Linked DNA regions of Homo sapiens: all the other regions are linked to region 1. Evidence: promoter capture Hi-C in 16 types of primary human blood cells and fetal thymus (Javierre and others, 2016). All regions are on one chromosome and are shown on one strand. Each heading gives the region's core, a stretch centred on a gene start or on the middle of the fragment in contact. The rest is flanking DNA. Distances are from core to core; before and after follow the strand shown.

The links. The method cuts DNA at HindIII sites, captures the fragments that hold promoters and counts their contacts. A CHiCAGO score of 5 or more calls a contact.
Region 2: a fragment that was not itself captured here is called in contact with the fragment with the promoter of RBMS1 in region 1 in 1 of 17 cell types (M0 macrophages); the score reaches 5.8 in M0 macrophages.
Region 3: a fragment that was not itself captured here is called in contact with the fragment with the promoter of RBMS1 in region 1 in 6 of 17 cell types (M2 macrophages, endothelial precursors, M1 macrophages and 3 more); the score reaches 8.3 in M2 macrophages.
Region 4: a contact is called between a fragment that was not itself captured here and the fragment with the promoter of RBMS1 in region 1, in 4 of 17 cell types (M2 macrophages, naive CD4 T cells, M0 macrophages and 1 more). The highest score is 7.0, in M2 macrophages.
Region 5: a fragment that was not itself captured here is called in contact with the fragment with the promoter of RBMS1 in region 1 in 2 of 17 cell types (M0 macrophages and M2 macrophages); the score reaches 6.4 in M0 macrophages.
Region 6: a contact is called between a fragment that was not itself captured here and the fragment with the promoter of RBMS1 in region 1, in 6 of 17 cell types (M2 macrophages, M1 macrophages, M0 macrophages and 3 more). The highest score is 9.9, in M2 macrophages.
Region 7: a contact is called between a fragment that was not itself captured here and the fragment with the promoter of RBMS1 in region 1, in 6 of 17 cell types (M2 macrophages, M0 macrophages, endothelial precursors and 3 more). The highest score is 9.9, in M2 macrophages.

What each region holds. Positions count from the first base shown.
Region 1 is chr2:160,492,458-160,495,157 of GRCh38, reverse strand. It overlaps RBMS1 (RNA binding motif single stranded interacting protein 1), which reads left to right and starts at 1,351. Exons shown (of 14, transcript NM_016836.4): 1 at 1,351-1,869. The coding sequence starts at 1,795. RefSeq lists a silencer at 924-1,103 and an enhancer at 1,290-1,810. The HindIII fragment of the contact is 13,330 bases long and covers 1-2,700 here.
Region 2 is chr2:160,857,513-160,860,212 of GRCh38, reverse strand. No RefSeq gene overlaps it. Among named protein-coding and RNA genes, the nearest start is that of TANK-AS1, 300 kb to the left of the region's middle. The HindIII fragment of the contact is 1,648 bases long and covers 598-2,245 here.
Region 3 is chr2:160,996,701-160,999,405 of GRCh38, reverse strand. No RefSeq gene overlaps it. Among named protein-coding and RNA genes, the nearest start is that of TANK-AS1, 160 kb to the left of the region's middle. The HindIII fragment of the contact is 3,574 bases long and covers 1-2,705 here.
Region 4 is chr2:160,876,072-160,878,771 of GRCh38, reverse strand. It overlaps the pseudogene RN7SL423P. Among named protein-coding and RNA genes, the nearest start is that of TANK-AS1, 280 kb to the left of the region's middle. The HindIII fragment of the contact is 3,214 bases long and covers 1-2,700 here.
Region 5 is chr2:160,818,806-160,821,505 of GRCh38, reverse strand. No RefSeq gene overlaps it. Among named protein-coding and RNA genes, the nearest start is that of RBMS1, 330 kb to the right of the region's middle. The HindIII fragment of the contact is 2,025 bases long and covers 299-2,323 here.
Region 6 is chr2:160,943,456-160,946,155 of GRCh38, reverse strand. No RefSeq gene overlaps it. Among named protein-coding and RNA genes, the nearest start is that of TANK-AS1, 220 kb to the left of the region's middle. The HindIII fragment of the contact is 667 bases long and covers 947-1,613 here.
Region 7 is chr2:160,978,883-160,981,582 of GRCh38, reverse strand. No RefSeq gene overlaps it. Among named protein-coding and RNA genes, the nearest start is that of TANK-AS1, 180 kb to the left of the region's middle. The HindIII fragment of the contact is 1,804 bases long and covers 500-2,303 here.

The sequences.
Region 1 (2,700 bases), core at 102-2,601:
TGTCAAACATGTAAGATCTAGAAATTTGTCTAAACCATAGAACGATTATAAGGGTTTCAGGTCCTTATTTTGTCATTGTTTTAAAGTATCTTACTAAACCTATTTTAAAATGTTATCATATAAAAATAATAACTGTTTAACAAAATAATGCATTCCAGTTGAGTTTAATTTACCTTGTGCTATTAACAAAAGACTCTTCAAAAACCAAAATGACAAAGTAAACAAGGTCTATTTAATAACAAACACAGTTTTTTATTACATTTTATTAGATGTGCCGGAACCCTAATTTGAGGATGCTTGCTTACCTATGCTATCCGTATGTACATTTTGGTATTAGCTCTCTTTTTGAGCTGGAATATAAAAGTCTTCTGCAGGCAGCTTCGGGGACCAATTAATTCCATTAAATTATATCTAGTTATGTAGTGAACTGAACCACTGCTGGTCTGAGGCTGTCTAGAGCTGTGACAATTAGGAGATGGAGAGAGGCAGAAAGAGAGATTGATTTTATATGTCACTGAAGCACACTGCAACAATATGCCAGCGTGACTTTCAAAATGGCCTTAAAATATTCCAAACTCAGGGAGTTTCCTTGCTCCTGAGTGGGAGTTGACAGACTGTCTGGCAGCATTAGAAAGAGGCAGAGAAAAGCTGATGTCTATATTGTGTCCTCTAATAACATTCTGCCTCTTTGCGGCATCCCCCTCTTAGAAGGATCCGTCTATATGTTGTGAGGGGTGTGTGTGTGTGTGTGTGTGTGTGTGTATGTATGTATGTGCTTTGCCTCCCCTTGTGCAAGGGGCATGATTTCACGTCTCACATCTGGGAAAACCAAACCGAAGGACGCTAACCCTCCCAAGGTCACCTAGATTAGTCTTGTGGCCCCGGGTCGGGGGTGGGTGGGAGGAACAGAACCCAGGTGTCCAGACTCCAGCTTTGTTGGGCATTAAATCATTTTCCTTCCCTTGTGAAAAAAAATTACTGGGCGGTGGGAAGTGAACGATTAATCAGATTTCCTCTTTTCCCTTATTTCCCCTCCCCCTTACGAAGATAAAAACTCGGGAAAGCAAAAGAGGTGCCCGCCCTGCAGTTCTTAAGCTGGGTCCCCCCGCATTCCCCCTCCACCCCCACTCCCACTCCCATTTCCCCACCCCCGACACAAAGCGATCTGGACTCACAGGGCTTCCGCCCGTCCAACCGCGAGCCTGGGAGGTGAGGAGTGGTTAAAACTCAGCCCTCACCTCCAGCGGGTCCCGGGCTCGGCGGCGCCCAGGCCCCGCCCCCGCCCGCCCTTCCCCCACGGCCTCGGAACGCCAGCCCCTCTCCTCTCTCCACATCGGGCGCACCCACCCCAGATGCCGCCTGGCACCAAGCGCAGCCGCCGCTGCCGCACTTTCCACTTGTATTGATCACCTCTCAGCCCCGCGCAGCCGGCTCGCCCGAGCGGACCGCGGCCAGCGCGCCAGCCCTTGGCAGCCCCGGAGCAGTCGGGCTCCGGGAGGAAACTCCTTGGGAGCGCCCTGTCCGGGGTGCCCTCTGCGCTCTGCAGTGTCTTTCTTTCTGCCTGGGAGGAGGAGGAGGAGGAGGAAGAGGAGGAGGAGGAGGAGGAGGAGGAGGAAGAGGAGGAGGAGGAGGAGGACGTCTGGTCCCGGCTGGGAGGTGGAGCAGCGGCAGCAGCAGCAGCCGCCGCCGCCGCCGCCGCTGCCGCCGCCGCCGGAAAGGGAGAGGCAGGAGAGCCCGAGACTTGGAAACCCCAAAGTGTCCGCGACCCTGCACGGCAGGCTCCCTTCCAGCTTCATGGGCAAAGTGTGGAAACAGCAGATGTACCCTCAGTACGCCACCTACTATTACCCCCAGTATCTGCAAGCCAAGGTAAAGGGGCGCCGGGGAGAGGTGACGGCCGGAGGAGGGGGCCCGGGGACGCGCGCAGGGTCAGGCCTGGGGAGGGGGGCGCGCGGCGAACCCCCGCCACCGCCGGGCGGAGTTGCTGGAAGGTTGCTAACTATAGCGCTGGCCTGGGCAGAGCCGGGCGGCGCGCGGGGCGGCGGCTTCCCTGGGAGCGGAGTGCGGGGATCGGGTTACAGAAAGCCGCGGGGGGAGAGACTAGACAGGAAAGAGCCACCAGCCCCTTCCTGGCCCGGCCAGCGGGGAGGGTCGTGGGGTCGAGCGGCGCCCCTCGCCGAGCCCTGGCTGGCCGGCGGCCGTCGCCTGGTGTGCGCGTCTGGATCCGCTGGTGGCCCGGCTTTTCGACCCCTTCTCCAAGGGCCTCGCCCTGTAAGCTGTAACTCTTCGCTCCCCTCGCCGTGGCGCGGAGCCTCCCGCCCCCCAGGGACGCCCCTCCACCTCCCGCGCACGCGATGACTGGGGCTGGAGGGGCGGCGGGGCCGGGATATTTTCCTCCCCGCCTCCGGCCCTGAGCGCCCGCCCCTCGCCTCTGATCTTTGTGCGGTGTGGCACTTCACCTGGTTACTGATTTCTACTTTTACGCTGGTGTTTTGGGTAGAAAAGTGGCCAAAGTTCACTCGCGTTCATTGATGTCCCTTCTAATCTCTAGAGGTTTTGCAAAGGAGGGACAATGGGCAGATTTCAGTGCAGAGAAAGAAGTGACTTCGTATTTGGTTAAAAAAGAAACAAAAACAAAACTAGCTTATATGTTTGCCACAGATCGATTTCCAATGTTGCTTTTTAAAAAGTGACCTCGGC
Region 2 (2,700 bases), core at 172-2,671, 360 kb before region 1:
ACTAGCATGTGAAACTGCACTCACTTTGATCTTGACAAGTGCAGAGTGAGCAATCTCTAAGTGTGAAACTGTGGTGTTGCATTATTTCTGGCATTTCTAGAATAAGAAATGATCAGTTTTATTTTTTTAAAAAAAGCATAGAACAGATTTAAGATCAGATCATAAGGCAGTGGGAAAAAAAATTCAGAGCTTGAAAATTTCCATTTACTTCATATCAATCTTAGGCTCAGGCACCCACTCCTTCCTTACACACATAGTTAATATAGTCTGAACTTAATTTATTCACCAATTACATTCACTTGCTTCCCTAAGTGACAGCAGAACTTTATTATGGTATTTATCAACATATATAAAAAGCACACTTTTCAGTTGATTTTTAAAAAAATTAAAATGAAGTTTTGAGATTGTGTTTGTATCACATTTTTTGGGAGGGCAATTTAATAGCAACTCACAGTATTGTTGTAGCAGGGGTGATTATGAAGTTGCATAAAGTATTAGTAATGGAGTTCAACATGGAAGTCTGTAAAGATGAAAATCAGAAAAATCACAAACTGTCACCAGAGTAAGTAGTTGTAATTACCTCTAAAGGTAAAAGCTTATATCTATTTTTTACACAAATTTTTTAACCAATGTATCTGTAGTTTCTAGATGACCATTTATGTAATTTGTGATGGGATTGCTTGACAAATGAGACAGGTAAACAGGAACTGATAGTAACGAAAAACAGTGGTAATGTATTTGTTCAAAGCTGCCTGAGACTGCTTTAAATGTAACATGCCTCTCTATGAGAAACACATGATTCTGGTGGAAGGGTAGAATTCCCATGAAATGGTTAATTTACTAAAGATACCAAGCCATTTGGTAAATGCAGGGTGTTCAGTGCTAAGAGTGAAGCAAAGTGGCAAGTTGCCAAGGAGAGATGGAACAGGTTCATAGAGATGTATGTTGCAAGCATTTTGATTTGTGGCAAACTTGTTTGCCTCAGGAAGTCACTGACAGTGGGGGAGGAAAGGAGGTAGGTGCTATAGTTGTGTCTAACAAACACTGATCCAGACAAAACAACAACCAAAACCCAGGAGCTGACACTCAATCATTAAAGGATCCCAGTCGTTGTACAGTGCACCTATCTGGCCAACCCTCAAAAGAACTCAAAGAAAGCAGAATCTTAATTTCTCAAACTAGGAAATGGAAAACTGCAATATCTGAACACTTGTATCTAAGCTCAGATAGGAGCAGTGATAGTATTAAAATAGAATGGGTTTAATAATAAATCTTGGCCATGCAACTGCAATCTACAGAGTAGTAAATTTTTAATGTTCATTAGTTCTGCCTCCTTTTAAACAGTATACAAGTGTACTATGTCTGCGTGTACAATGATGCCTTTATATTGTGGCAGTAGTTGAAGAAATGGCTGTGCCATGATTAATTGTAGAACAGAATTGCTTGACAGCAGAGCTGTCAAATATCAAAACACTTGCCAGGATTTTTAATTGGACAAGCTGAGGAATGTATAGTGTTGCTATAACTGAAATCAATCTATAATTTGAATAAAAATTAACTCTTTAATACTGCCTTCCTTCTTACCTGCACAACGTCAAAATAAAAACCAAACCAAAACAAAACAAAAAAAACCCAACATGAACAAGCAAGCAAACAAACAAATGAAAATCCTCCATAGAAATGTTTGCATGCAGACATGCATTCATGATTGATGACTGATAAATAAAGGAGCAGTGTTTATAAGGCTCTTTGAAGTTTGCAAAGAGCTTACATGTACATTATTTTGTTTAATTGTCATAATAACACCATGAGATGGATTGTGCAGGCATTTCAGTTCAGTTTTCAATGAAGCCTATACTGTACCAGGTTTTGTGCTAGACACATAAATTAGAGGACATCCCTGTGGCCAATAAATTTGACAAAAGAGGAAACTGAGTCTCAGAGAGAGAGCGAGAGAGAGAGAGAGATGGTCCAGTAAGATTTTTTGCTGTAGATACCAAAAGTCTGTATCTTTGGATGCAAGTTCCAATGCTTTTATCCTTTTACGATGGTACCTCTGAATGGAATAAAGCCAAATTAGCCAAGAGAGAAATACATTTTTGTTGAAAGCTGGTTTCCAAGGCACTCTAAATTTCATACAGTGAAACCAGCGTAGCAGATAACTCAATTCAAAGATCACCTGCCTATTAAAGCAAGGTTTTTAGGCCACTGATTTTACTTCCTTATGAGTGATGCTGCATAAGCTTGCATTAAAACAGTGAATTTTTCAGCTTTGACATGTAACGAGCTTGGAAGACATGACTCTCAGTCTTACAAGAAAAAGCTAGATGAATTAAAAATTAATTGTCTTTCTTGAACCTATCAGAGAACTTAAGTTGCAGGTCAAACAGTCACCCCAAAATGTGAAGAAACAGGGGCATCCAGAGAGATATAGCTGTCATCTGTTTACTGGGAGCAGATGCTCCTGGAGCCATAAACTGGTAAGAATATTTAATGAGGACTTTGTTGGATTGCTGGAGGCTTAGTGTGGACCAGCAAAGACTTAGAAACTCCTGGGGGCTCCGCCTTTGGGGGCCTATGAATTTGTGGATTTTACCTCCAGAAACCCTAGCAGGGTTCTCACTGTGAAAATTAGAGATAAATCCCCTTGTAATTTTCACAGGGGGAGGGTACATGAAACCATATTGAAATACACCTTGG
Region 3 (2,705 bases), core at 76-2,575, 500 kb before region 1:
GTCTCAGCCCAAAATCTCCTTAAGCTGATAAGCAACTTCAGCAAAGTCTCAGGATACAAAATCAATGTGCAAAAATCACAAGCATTCTTATACACCAATAACAGACAAACAGAGAGCCAAATCATGAGTGAACTCCCATTCACAGTTGCTTCAAAGAGAATAAAATACCTAGGAATCCAACTTACAAGGGATATGAAGGACCTCTTCAAGGAGAACTACAAACCGCTGCTCAATGAAATAAAAGAGGATACAAACAAATGGAAGAACATTCCATGCTCATGGGTAGGAAGAATCAATATCATGAAAATGGCCATACGGCCCAAGGTAATTTATAGATTCAATGCCATCCCCATCAAGCTACCAATGACTTTCTTCACAGAATTGGAAAAAACTACTTTAAAGTTCATATGGAACCAAAAAGGAGCCCGCATCGCCAAGTCAATCCTAAGCCAAAAGAACAAAGCTGGAGGCATCACCCTACCTGACTTCAAACTATACTACAAGGCTATAGTAACCAAAAGAGCATGGTACTGGTACCAAAACAGAGATATAGATCAATGGAACAGAACAGAGCCCTCAGAAATAACGCTGCATATCTACAACTATCTGATCTTTGACAAACCTGAGAAAAACAAGCAATGGGGAAAGGATTCCCTATTTAATAAATGGTGCTGGGAAAACTGGCTAGCCATATGTAGAAAGCTGAAACTGGATCCCTTCCTTACACCTTATACAAAAATTAATTCAAGATGGATTAAAGACTTAAATGTTAGACCTAAAACCATAAAAACCATAGAAGAAAACCTAGGCAATACCATTCAGGACCTAGGCATGGGCAAGGACTTCATGTCTAAAACACCAAAAGCAATGGCAACAAAAGCCAAAATTGACAAATGGGATCTAATTAAACTAAAGAGCTTCTGCGCAGCAAAAGAAACTACCATCAGAGTGAACAGACACCTACAAAATGGGAGAAAATTTTCGCAACCTGCTCATCTGACAAAGGGCTAATATCCAGAATCTACAATGAACTCAAACAAATTTACAAGAAAAAAACAAAAAACCCCATCAAAAAGTGGGCAAAGGATATGAACAGACACTTCTCAAAAGAAGACATTTATGCAGCCAAAAGACACATGAAAAGATGGTCATCATCACTGGCCATCAGAGAAATGCAAATCAAAACCACAATGATATACCATCTCACACCAGTTAGAATGGCAATCATTAAAAAGTCAGAAAACAACAGGTGCTGGAGAGGATGTGGAGAAATAGGAACACTTTTACACTGTTGGTGGGACTGTAAACTAGTTCAACCATTGTGGAAATCAGTGTGGCGATTTCTCAGGGATCTAGAACTAGAAATACCATTTGACCCAGCCATCCCATTACTGGGTATATACCCAAAGGACCATAAATCATGCTGCTATAAAGACACATGCACACATATGTTTATTGCGGCACTATTCACAATAGCAAAGACTTGGAACCAACTCAAATGTCCAACAATGATAGATTTGATTAAGAAAATGTGGCACATATACACCATGGAATACTATGCAGCCATAAAAAATGATGAGTTCATGTCCTTTGTAGGGACATGGATGAAATTGGAAATCATCATTCTCAGTAAACTATTGCAAGGGCGAAAAACCAAACACCGCATGTTCTCACTCATAGATGGGAATTGAACAATGAGAACACATGGACACAGGAAGGGGAACATCACACTCTGGGGACTGTTTTGGGGTGGGGGGAGGGGGGAGGGATAGCATTAGGAGATATACCTAATGCTAAATGACAAGTTAATGGATGCAGCACACCAGCATGGCACATGTATACATATGTAACTAACCTGCACATTGTGCACATGTACCCTAAAACTTAAAGTATAATAATAATAAAAATATTAAAAAAGACAAATAATTAAATAATTTAAATATTTTTTAAAAAACAGAAATAGACAAATTTGCCACTGTTTTCAAGTTTTCTTTTCTTTTTTCTTCCTTTTTTTTTTTTTGAGATGGAGTCTCACTCTGTCACCCAGGCTGGAGTGCAGTGGCACAGTCTCTGCTCACTGCAACCTCCACCTCCCAGGTTCAAAAGATTGTATATGCCTCAGCCACCTGAGTAGCTGGCATTACAGATGCATGCCACCACGCCTGGCTAATTTTTGTGTTTTTAGTAGAGACAGGGTTTCACCATGTTGGCCAGGCTGGTCTTGAACCCCTGGCTTCAAGTCATCTGCCTGTCTCAGCCTCCCAAAGTGCTGGAATTACAAGCATGAGCCACTGCCCCTGGCTTTTTTCAAGTTTCTAAATATTAACTTTTTATGGAGAGACTGTTTAACTCTGTCATGAAAACTATTTCACCTCTGTACAATGTAGAAGTAACCTGTAAACAAATCACTAATGGTATTCTTGTTTAACATTTAAAATAAGTTTTCTCTAAAATGGATAATCCTATAACAATAGTATCAATGACTATTTCTAAGCCTTCCCATGCAAGGTGCTATGCAAAATGCTTCATATGAATTATCTAATAGATCTGCATGAGGACAAATATTGAACTTCTATTAAAAATAAAGACATTGAAAACCAAAGTGTTTAGAATGCTGATAAGGCAAAATGATTTACTTTGTGCAGTTACCTTAGATAGAAAAAAATACCACAAAATAGCCAAATAAAATAAATGCAAATGGAAAG
Region 4 (2,700 bases), core at 65-2,564, 380 kb before region 1:
TTCATGCTGCTTCCTGTGCCTGGAAAACTCTTTCTTCCTTATCTACTTATGCTTCCAGACTTGGCTCAACAAAAGCCTTCTCTCTAAACCTTTTCTTGTCTTTCCAGATTAAGATGAAGCCCCTTTCTTCTGCAGTCCATTACACTCTTTGTGTGCTAGACAGAATGATGCCCCCCAAAAGATGTCCACATGCTAATCTCCAGAAATTGTGAATGTATTATCTCATATGGTGAAAGGGTCTTATCTTGAATTATCTGGCATACCCAATATAAACACATGGAGTCTTTATAAGAGGGAAGCAGGAGGGTCAGAAGGAGATGGGACCGAAGAAGCAGAGGAGGTGGGGGAAAGAGAGAGTACACACAAGTGTGAATGAGTGCTGAGCTTGAAGATGGAGGAAGGACCACAAGCAGGGCAGGGCAGTGGCCTGTAGAAGCTGAAAAAGGCAAGGAAAGGATGTTCCCCTAGACCCTCTAGAAGGACCATAGCCCTGCCAACACTTTGATTTTAGGACTTCTGCCCTCCAGAACTATAAGATAATAAGTTTGTGTTGTTTTGAGCAACAAATTTGTGGTGATTTGTTATAGCAGCAATAAGAAATGAATGCACTAAGCATACCTCTGTTCATGTTCTCTTATATGTTACTATACTTATTTAAGCCCCCTAATTAGTTATGACCTATTCAGTTACCCATTCAACAGCAACAGTTAAGTCTTGAGGGCTTTCTTTGGTCTTGGTACTGTTCATGGTGCTAGAAATCCAATAGTGTATGAAACAAACGAAGTCACTGAGCTTATGGAGATTACAACTCAATGTCTGGCACATACGAGGCTTTAAAAAATGTTTGTTGAATGAATGAATCAAGACAGTTTTATAATTATGGACTTAAATAAAAGTGATAAAAGTAATTGTTTCTTGCTAAGAGACAGGGTCTTGCTATGTTGCCCATGCTAGAGTACAGTGTTTTTTTTACAGGTACAATCCCACTACTCATCAGCATGCAGGCTTTGACCTGCTCCATTTCCAACTTGGGCCAGTTGACCCCTTCTTAGGCAACATAGTGGTCCCCTGCTCTTGAGAGATCACAGTATTGATGCTGAACTTAGTGTAGACTCCCGATTGGCATAGCGTACTACAGCCTAGAACTCCTGGGCTCAAGTGATTCTCCTGCCTCAGCTGCCCAAGTAGCTGGGACTATGGTTGTGGGCTATTTACTATGCCCAGCACAAGTAACCTTTATTTAAATAACAATTCTACAGAAAATGGTGTTACTGTAAATCATCAGAGATGATAAGACCATGCCCAAATTCATACCAAAACAAATTTTACACCGTTTCTGAATAAGAAGGAATTCATGGAGTCAAAATTTTTATTATTAGTTTTTTCAGTTTCTGAAAAATCAAATGTATACACCAGGGCAAACACTATACAGTTTACAAAGGCAGTTGATTCAAAGTGACGATACTTGGGCAGAAGAGATGAAACTTTGTGCTATTTGGTTTACCCTGCAGACTAGTAATAACATGAAAACAAATTCCAGGTAGGCAAATAATTGATTGGATCCTCAGATTTTTAGAAGCACATTGAGAGGTTGATACTTTTTATAGTGGCTAAGAAATGTGACAAGAGTCTCAACAGTGTTCAGTAAACACAAAGAATAAACAAACACTGCTTCTTTTCAGTTTTCAGTGATAAAGCCAAGAATCTTGGAGGGGAGAGACAATTCAGTACAGGTTCTGAATTTCTAAATGACCTCCCCCTTTCTTCTCAGTATTGTGCTTACCAAAAGCTGGATATCTAACTCATGACTAATTGCTTAGCAGAAACTTAGCTCCTGGTTTTCCTTAAGGCTTGGGAACCCAGTTCTGAGAGACAAAGTTCTCTTAGGTTCCATTTTGTGGTCAGGACCAGCCGTGTGTGCCATAGGCAATTTGTAGAAAAGCGTATGTAGTAGGAGAATAAACCATGACAGAACGTGGGCTGCAGAGTAACATAGATCTGGCCATAGGAGAACATGTCTGAACACTGAATGAAAGCCTCTCCAGAGTTGAGAGCCAACAAATTTCCCATGGGGACTTGGACTTTTAAGCAGAAGTTTCTACTGGGTAAGACTGACTCTTACAAGCATTTAGCATTAATTCTCTCTTGATCCGAGCAAACGAGAAAACATGGCTTTGGAGACTTAAAAAAACATTATTTGAACTCATAGAAGAGATGATTCCAATGAAGACAATTTCTTCTTTCCAGCACCTTTCCAAAATAAGAAGAAATAAGAAACGCATAAAACCCATCAGAACAAAGAGAAAGGAATATGTAACATTAGTGAATATGGGTTTTTGTTTTTAATTTGCTTTGCAATGGGAATGGGTTTAATCTTTGCGAGGCTACATACATATTACTATTTTATTCCTCTAGCTAACATACACTAAGCTAATCCATGATATATAATAGAACAAAAAGGCTGACTCCAAGGACTAAGGTATCAACAATTCTGCTTGGTGAGCCTAGGATCACAGGTCCTATTACACAAGCCTGTGACCTGCCAAGGCCCCTAGGGCATATGTGAGAAAGTAGTCAGAGAGCAGATGGAGGCCTGATAACTGACTGAGCATGGGGATGAAGCCATGATTTATGGTGCTTATAGAAAATAAGTCTGGATGAAAAGAACAAATTCGCACAGCAGAACTGGTGGGAAGCTCA
Region 5 (2,700 bases), core at 62-2,561, 330 kb before region 1:
TCCAACAATGTATAAAAGGAATTATACAGTGTGTTTATGTGGGATTATTTCCAGGAATTCAAAGTTGGTTCAACACCAGAAAATAGATTAATCTAATCCATCACATCAACAAGCTAAAGAATAAAAATTACTTGATCATGTCAACAGATGCAGAGAAAGCATTTGACAAAATCCACCACCCACTCATGTAAAAACACTCAACAAACTAGGAATAGAGGGAGCATACTGAACTGGATTTAAAAAAATCTGCATAAAATCTACTGCTAATATCATACTTAACAATGAGAAAATATAAGCTTTCTCACTAAAATTAGGAACAACGCAAGGATACTCCCTCTAAGCACTTCTTTTTAGCATCATACTGGAAGTCCTAGCTAATGCAATATTAAGGTTTGAATGCCATCTGCCAAAACTTGTGTTGAAATTTGATTCCCAGTACGGCAGTGTTAGAAGCTAGGCCTAGTGGGAGGTGTTCAGATCACAGAGATACTGTCCTCATAAATAGATTAATGCTGCCTCGTGGAAGTGAGTGAGTTCTCACTCTAGCAGGAATGGATTCATTCCTGAGAAAGCCTTCTTGCATGTCTCTTTGCAAGTGCCCGCCTTCACTTCTGCTTTTCACCAAGAGTTGAAGCATCACAAGATCCTCACCAGATGGTTTGCCCCATCGTGAACTTTCTAGCCACCAGAATCATGAGCCAAATGAACCTATTTTAAAAAATAATTACCCAGTCTCAGATATCCTGTTATAGCCGCAAAAAATGGACTAAGACATGCAGTAAGACGAGAAAGGAAATAAAAGGTGCACGGTTTGGGAAGGAATAAATAAAACTTTCTTTGTTCTCAGATTGCATAATTGTTTATGGAGAAAATATAAGAGAGTTGACAAAAGAACTTCTGGAACTATTAAATCATTTTAGCAAGTTTGCAGGAAACAAGGTTATATTAAAAAGTCAATCATTTTTCTCTATATTAACAAGGAACAAGTAGAATTTGAAGTAAAAACACAATAACAATTATATGAGGAGCCCGCAAAATGAAATACTTAGGTATATATCTAGCAAAATATGTACAAAATCTATATGAGGAAACCTAAAAAAAAAAAACCCGATGAAAGATGTCAAAAAAAAAAAAAACGAAATAAATGAAGAGATAGTCTGTGTTCAGAGACAGGAAGACTCAATATTGTCAAGACATCAATTCTTCTCAACTTGACCTATAGATTCAATGCAGTCCCACTTAAATTCTCAGCAGTTATTTTAAGGATATTGGCAAACTAAATCTGAAGTTTAAATAGAGAAGCAATGACCCAGAATAACCAACATGATATTGTAGGAAAATAAGAAAGTTGGACACTACCAAACTTAAAGACATACTATATAGCTACAGTAATCAAGACAGTGTGGTATTGGTAGAAGAATAAACAAAAAGATGAGTGGAACTGAATAGAGAATCCAGAATGGACCCAGACAAGTATAGTGAACTGATATTTGACAAAGAAGCAAAGGCAATAGAATGGAACAGAGATAGTCTTTTCAACAAATGGTTCTGGAACAACTGGACATCCACATGCAAACAATTGAATCCATATGAGATTTTATGCCCTTCACAAAAATTAGCTCAAAGTGATTATAAATCTAAATGTAAAATGCAACACTATAAAACTCCTTGAAATAAAATGGGAGAAAATTGAGGTAACCTTGAGTATGGCAATGATGTTTTAGATATACCACCAAGACATGATCTATGAAAAAAATAATAAGCTAGACTTCACTAGAACTAAAAACTTCTACTCTGGAAAAGACACTGTCAAGAGAATGAGAACAGAAACCACAGAATGGGAGAAGATATTTGCAAAAGACACATTTGGTTAAGGGTTCTTATCAAAAATATAAATATTAAAACTCAACAGCAAGAAAACTAATAAATCAATTTTAAAAATGGACAAAAGACCTGAACAGACACTTCACTAAAGAAGATATACAGGTGGCGAAAAGCATATGAAAAGATGTTGAACATCACATACCATTAGGAAACTGCAAATTAAAAGGGCAAGATACCACTACACACCTATCAGAATGGCCACAATCCAAAACACTGACAATGTCAAATGCTGTGAAGGTGTGGAGTAACAGGAACTCTTGTTTGTTCTTGGTGGGAATGCAAAATGGCACAGCTACTTTGGAAGACAGTTTGGTAATGTCTTAGAAAACAAAACATTCTCTTACCGTACAATACAGCAATCATGCTTCTTGTTATTTACCCAAATGAGTTGAAAACTTAGATCCAGATAAAAACCTGGACATGAATGTTTATAGAAGCTTGATTTATAATGACCAAAACCTGGAAAAAACCAAGATGTCCTCAGTAGGTGAATGGATAAATAAGCTGTGGTAGATCCAGACAGTGAACTGTTATTCAGTGCTAAGAAGAAATGAGCTATCAAGTCATGAAAAGACATGAAGAAACCTTAACTGCATTTTACCAAGTGAAAGTAATCAATCTGAACATGCTACATACCAAAATACTACATACTATCTGATCTCAACTATAAGACATTCTGGAAAAGGCAAAACTATGGAGAAAGTAAAGACATCAGTGGTTGCTAGAGGTTGGGGGAAGGGAGGGATGAATAGACAGCACAGAAGATTTTTGGGGCAATGAAACTATGCTGTATGACATTATAATGGTGAATGCATG
Region 6 (2,700 bases), core at 31-2,530, 450 kb before region 1:
TTGGTCCACTATCATTCATGATGATCCTTCTAGTTTTTGCAAGGGCCAAATAGGTGAATTGAATGAGGCTATCCCTTCATCCTTCAAGTCTTTGGTGGTGGTGCTAATTTCTGCAATTTCTCTTGAGATGTAGGATTGCAGTTTGGGGAACTTCCCATGTCTCTTCCAAACCCACAGTGGCTCTTATTTCAGTGGCCAAGGAACCAATCTTGATTGTACTGAGGGACTGGGCAAATAACCACACAGGTGGCCTGCGGCCCCATTGGACGACTATGAGATGGACATGGGCCAGGATTCTATTCATCACCTGGCTTCTACATGCCTCTTTCTAATGAAGGGTCACAATAGCATTTTCAATTCCTTGCTTTTAGAGCCAACTCAGACTCTGAGTCTAAAAGTCCTTGCATGGTCTGGGTATTTTTGTTTCCCCAGTGTATATCTGATATTCTGGTAAATAGCTTCAAGTTCCTTTGGGAAAGGATCAGGAGATATTTATTTTAAATTTTTGCAGTGGTGTTGCAGGATATTGCCAAATGGACCTAGTCTCTTTGATAGTCACTGAGCTCTGGATCAGAGACTGAGCTCTGTGTCTGGGAACTGACTTAGATCTAGTAAATGGGTGAGAGAGTGTGATTTCCCATTGGGGCGACAGACACCAGTTTTTTGCTTTCCAGATCTCTCCTGCTGGCTCTATAGATGAAGTGAAACTCTAGTTGGCTGCCCATCTGTCTTGCTCCCATGATTTATTAACAACTGCTACCGATTCCTATGGGTCAAAGCTCTCAGGTCATCACTCTGGCCTCACTGTTTATTTCAGAAATTATGACCACCCTATTTCTGTGAAGACAAATTAGCCTCTCCTATTTGAGAATCCTATCAATTCCATTGATACCAGGGAGACTGGTTCTAACATAGCACTTCCCACTGTCAACAACACAACCAAGCTTCTCCACAATGGTGGTGCTCCCCTCACTCTGCATTCTTCATTGACTGATTGTAGGAGTGTTCTTTGGACTCCCTCAGGCAACAGAGTCAGGTGGTGGGTACTTTGATGTAACACAGTAAACCCATTCCAACATTTCCACCTCCCTGAGCCCTTCAAGCCCTTCCCCAAAACCCTGCCAAGGCCTGACTTACCTAATTACTTTGATAAGGACAAAGCTATAAGGAACAATTTTAGCAGTGTATTAGGACCAGTTCTATGTGTCTTTGCTAAGATGTTGAACCCCATGTCACGGGAGAGTGTTCTAACATCAATACATTCTCCCTTCTCCAGCCTTATGTGCTAACCTTGTGTTGGGTACTCTAAGATCTACTCCTACACCTGTTCCCCTGGCTTCTCCTGGGTGCATTAACCAGGTCTTAAAATTCTCTGGTTGTACTACTTTCTTCCAAAGCCAGGATCATATACACTTCACAATGGTGCTGTGGCCTAAACATTCCTATCATTATAGCTCTCATTCTATAGGATAGGAAACAATGGAGGGAATCTGCTAATTGTTTAGTATGTATGCTTACAGATTAGATAAATAACTTTCTGTTGGGTCCAGTGTGGAGACAGTGAGGGTAGATGGGAGCAGAACATGACAGGGAGGAGAGTATCTTATGAAGCTTCTTCCTCCGATGAGGTTTTTGCAGTTTCTAGGTCAAGGTTTCTCAACAATGGGACCATTGACATTTGGACTAGATAATTCTTTGTTGTGAGGGGCTATGCTGTACTTATAGGACATTAACAGCATCCTACAATGACCTCTACCTATTAGGTGCCAATAGTACCTCCCTCTCTCAGTGGTGATAACTGTATCTCCCCAGTGTGGACCACTGATTAAATGTTAGAAGAGGGCTCTCTTCCTGCAGCCAGCCTCCTGCAGATGTCTCTTGGGTGATGGCAGAGTTCTCAGGGTGCAGCCGAGGTGAGCTATCATCAGGCTATTCCTGTGCACATCTGGTAGTTATAGCAATAGCTAGAGAAAAAAGGTGGGCTAAGAAGATGTGAGCCAGGGCATAAAATGTCTGTGACACAGAGGTATGTAACACCCACTTCAATTCACAGACGGGAACACTAAGGCTCAGGAAGGTTAAACAACGTAAGTCGAAGCACTGTGCATAAATATATGTAAGACATAATACCTCCCTTTGAGAAATTTTCAGTCCAGCAAATTGTGAAGTATTATATAATAAATAATTGCATGTAAGTGTTGATAAGGTCATACGACCATCAAGTGACAAAGATAAAAATAGAATGAGGTCTATTTGGCTTCCAAATCTGTATTCATTTTAGTGTACAGATATGCCTCAGGATTTCTTATGTATACTGCATACTAGAATTTTTGTTAAATTATTTGCATGCCCGTTATCATTGAACATTTGTAGGGATCTAAATAGTGGGCATTCTCACCCCCCATTTGTCAGATAAGGAAGTGGCCCTTTCTTGTACACCGTCTTATGCCCTAGATGCATTACGCTTAAAGAAGACATTGCTTTGTAGAGAAGGGTGACCTCACACTGATAAAATCAATGTGGACAAGTATGGAAATGCAGGCACAGGATAATGCAATATATTGCTAGAAACAGGAGAACCCAGTGACCAATTCCATTAACTCCATCTTCATCCTTCCACAGTGTGACTAATTAAGATATGGTCTGGTACTGAATAGCTCAACTCCTTTTAAGAGTAGCTTGTGAAACTGTGGAAACTAT
Region 7 (2,700 bases), core at 152-2,651, 490 kb before region 1:
ACACTGGGGATTACAATTCAACATAAGATTTGGTGGGGACACAGAACCAAAGTATATCACTATTTTTATAAATTCTGTATTCTTTGTCATGTTTGGCTACTGAAATCTGTGTTCTATTAACTTAGTGGCCATCTAGTGTTTTGACAGAGTTTTCCTAAATGCCTGGAGCCAACAAAAGAATATAAAATACTTTCCCAATCTTTGCAGATTGGCTGTCTGTGAGAGCATGGTATCAGTGCTTAGCTAGACCACTGTGTGTGTGTGTGTGTGTGTGTGTGTGTGTGTGTGTGTGTGTGTGTGTGTGTATAGATAGAGTTTCACTATGTTGCCCATACCAGACTGAAACTCCTAGGTTCAAGCAATTCTCCCACCTCAGCCTCTCAAGTAGCTGGGACCATATGCATACATTGTCATACCAGCTCAGGCCATTTTTTCAACTCTGTCTTAGCCTTCAGTTCCTGCTTGTTCAGAATCTGAAGGTCAGTGAGAGGTGAAAGCTTAGGGTCTTCTCAAGACTTTTCTGAACCTTCAGCCAGCTCTAGGTATGTGTGTAGTCTTTTCAATTCCCCTATATATAGGAAATGTTAAAAAGTCTTTATCTTCTCCCGTATCTCTTTTCCCTATGCATTTCTTCCAAGTTTTTTAGTCTGTCTGTTGCTTGTCCTGACTCCTTGCTCCAGGCTCCTGTGGTGAATAGCTTTGTTTTTGGAAACATTGCCCAAGAAGCCTCCTCAGCCCTGGGGATGCTCTGCATCAAGCAAAACAAAGGCAAACCTTGTACCTTCAGAGAGTCATCAAAGAGGTCGAAACAGACAACCACAATTATTTGACAATAATATCCAAATTGCCCCCTTTTGCAGTAGCAACCTGTACCTGGAGTATGTGCTACCATCTTCATGGCTGCTGCTGACTGGGGAGGAGGGGATGGTAGATGAACAATCCAAAATGCCATAGTACTCTCTTACCACGGTGCAGCAACTTCTTTCATCAAGTTTGCCCTGGTGGTTGTAAACTTTTAATTAAATTCCGGAGTTCTGCGAAGGTTGATTCTGACAGTTTTTATTAGCTTATTGGTTTCATTTTTTAAATTAAAAATTTTTAAAAATGTATTGTGTTTTTATACATGTATATATATAAAATTAGATTTTCCATTTTAATCATTTTAAAGTATAAAATTCAGTTGTTTAATTGCATTCATATTGTCGAGCAAATACTACTGTCTGTTAGTTGCTTTTATAAAGGGATGGAGCCCTAAAATTCCCTATCTGCCATTTTTTTGGCAATGTCACTTTCTACTTTAGGTCTTCAAGGAAATAAATAGTGTGGAGTGACATGTGTTAGAAAAATTAGAGGGGCCGGGTGCAGTGGCTCACGCCTGTAATCCCAGCACTTTGGGAGGCTGAGACAGGTGGATCACCTAAGGTCAGGAGTTTGAGACCAGCCTGACCCACATGGAGAAACCCTGTCTCTACTAAAAATACAAAATAAGCCAGGCATGGTGGCGCATGCCTGTAATCCCAACTACTCAGGAGGCTGAGGCAGGAGAATCTCTTGAATCTGGGAGGCGGAGGTTGCGGTGAGCCGACATCACGCCATTGCACTCCAGCCTGGGCAACAAGAGCAAAACTATCTCAAAAAAAAAAAAAAAAGAAAAAAAGAAAAGAAAAGAAAAAGAAAAATTAGAATTCGTAACTAAATATTCATTAAAATACAGAGTGCATTGGACCTGTCAGTACTATTTTTTTAACTTCCTGTGAATCTATAAGTATTTCAAAATAAAATGTTAAAAACATATAATAATGTATTTCAGGTTCATATATTATATTTATATCTGTATATATACGTACATACATACATACATTCAGCTATTTGAAGGGGGAAAAGCCTAACCTCAAAATAGCAGATGAAACCAGTGACAAAAGAATACGGGAATAGTATACATAGTTTCCAAAGAAAATCTTGGAGTCATGCATGCCAAAAGAGTAGTCAGGAGATAATCACACTGAGTACTGAACAAACCTGGAAGAACGTTTGGTTTGACTGGAAATTTTTTAAAAAGATAGAGTTGGAATGGGTTTTAAAAGATGCTCCTGCAAGACTGAGTTGATTATATTTTCACCGTTAAAGCAAATTTGGCATCAAGTAAATAAATATACTTGGACACACACATACACACAAACTTAGCAAGAACTAAGAAAGAAGATGCTAGAACTCTAAAATAAATATAGGCTACCAGAGAGGGATCAAATAGCACTCTAGGGATTGTAAAGGAGAAAAGCAATTATTCTTTACTCTCTTAAGCTTAGTGACTATGGCACTGCAAATTAAACTGGCAAAAGACAGATTAATAGAAAAAAGGCATACGTGTTTTATTTAATGTTAATGTTTTATTTTTGTGTGTACACAGAAGTCTTACAGAAAAGAAAGTAAAAATCCCAAGAAGCAGTTAGGCCTGACAGCTTATATACCATTTTAACAAAGAGAAATAAATTTGTGAAGAAGTGACAAGACAAAGAAAAAGGATTTGGCATTTCCATGCCATTGTTTCCCAATAGCAACTGAAAAAACAAAAGGCACCAAGATCATTATTGCTTTGTTTCCATCTTTAAAATCACATGCAAGTACTTTAATTATGGAACTTAGTTTGCATCCAGAACCTGACCTGGAAGAGACCAAGGAATGTGATTTTTAGCTTTGCAG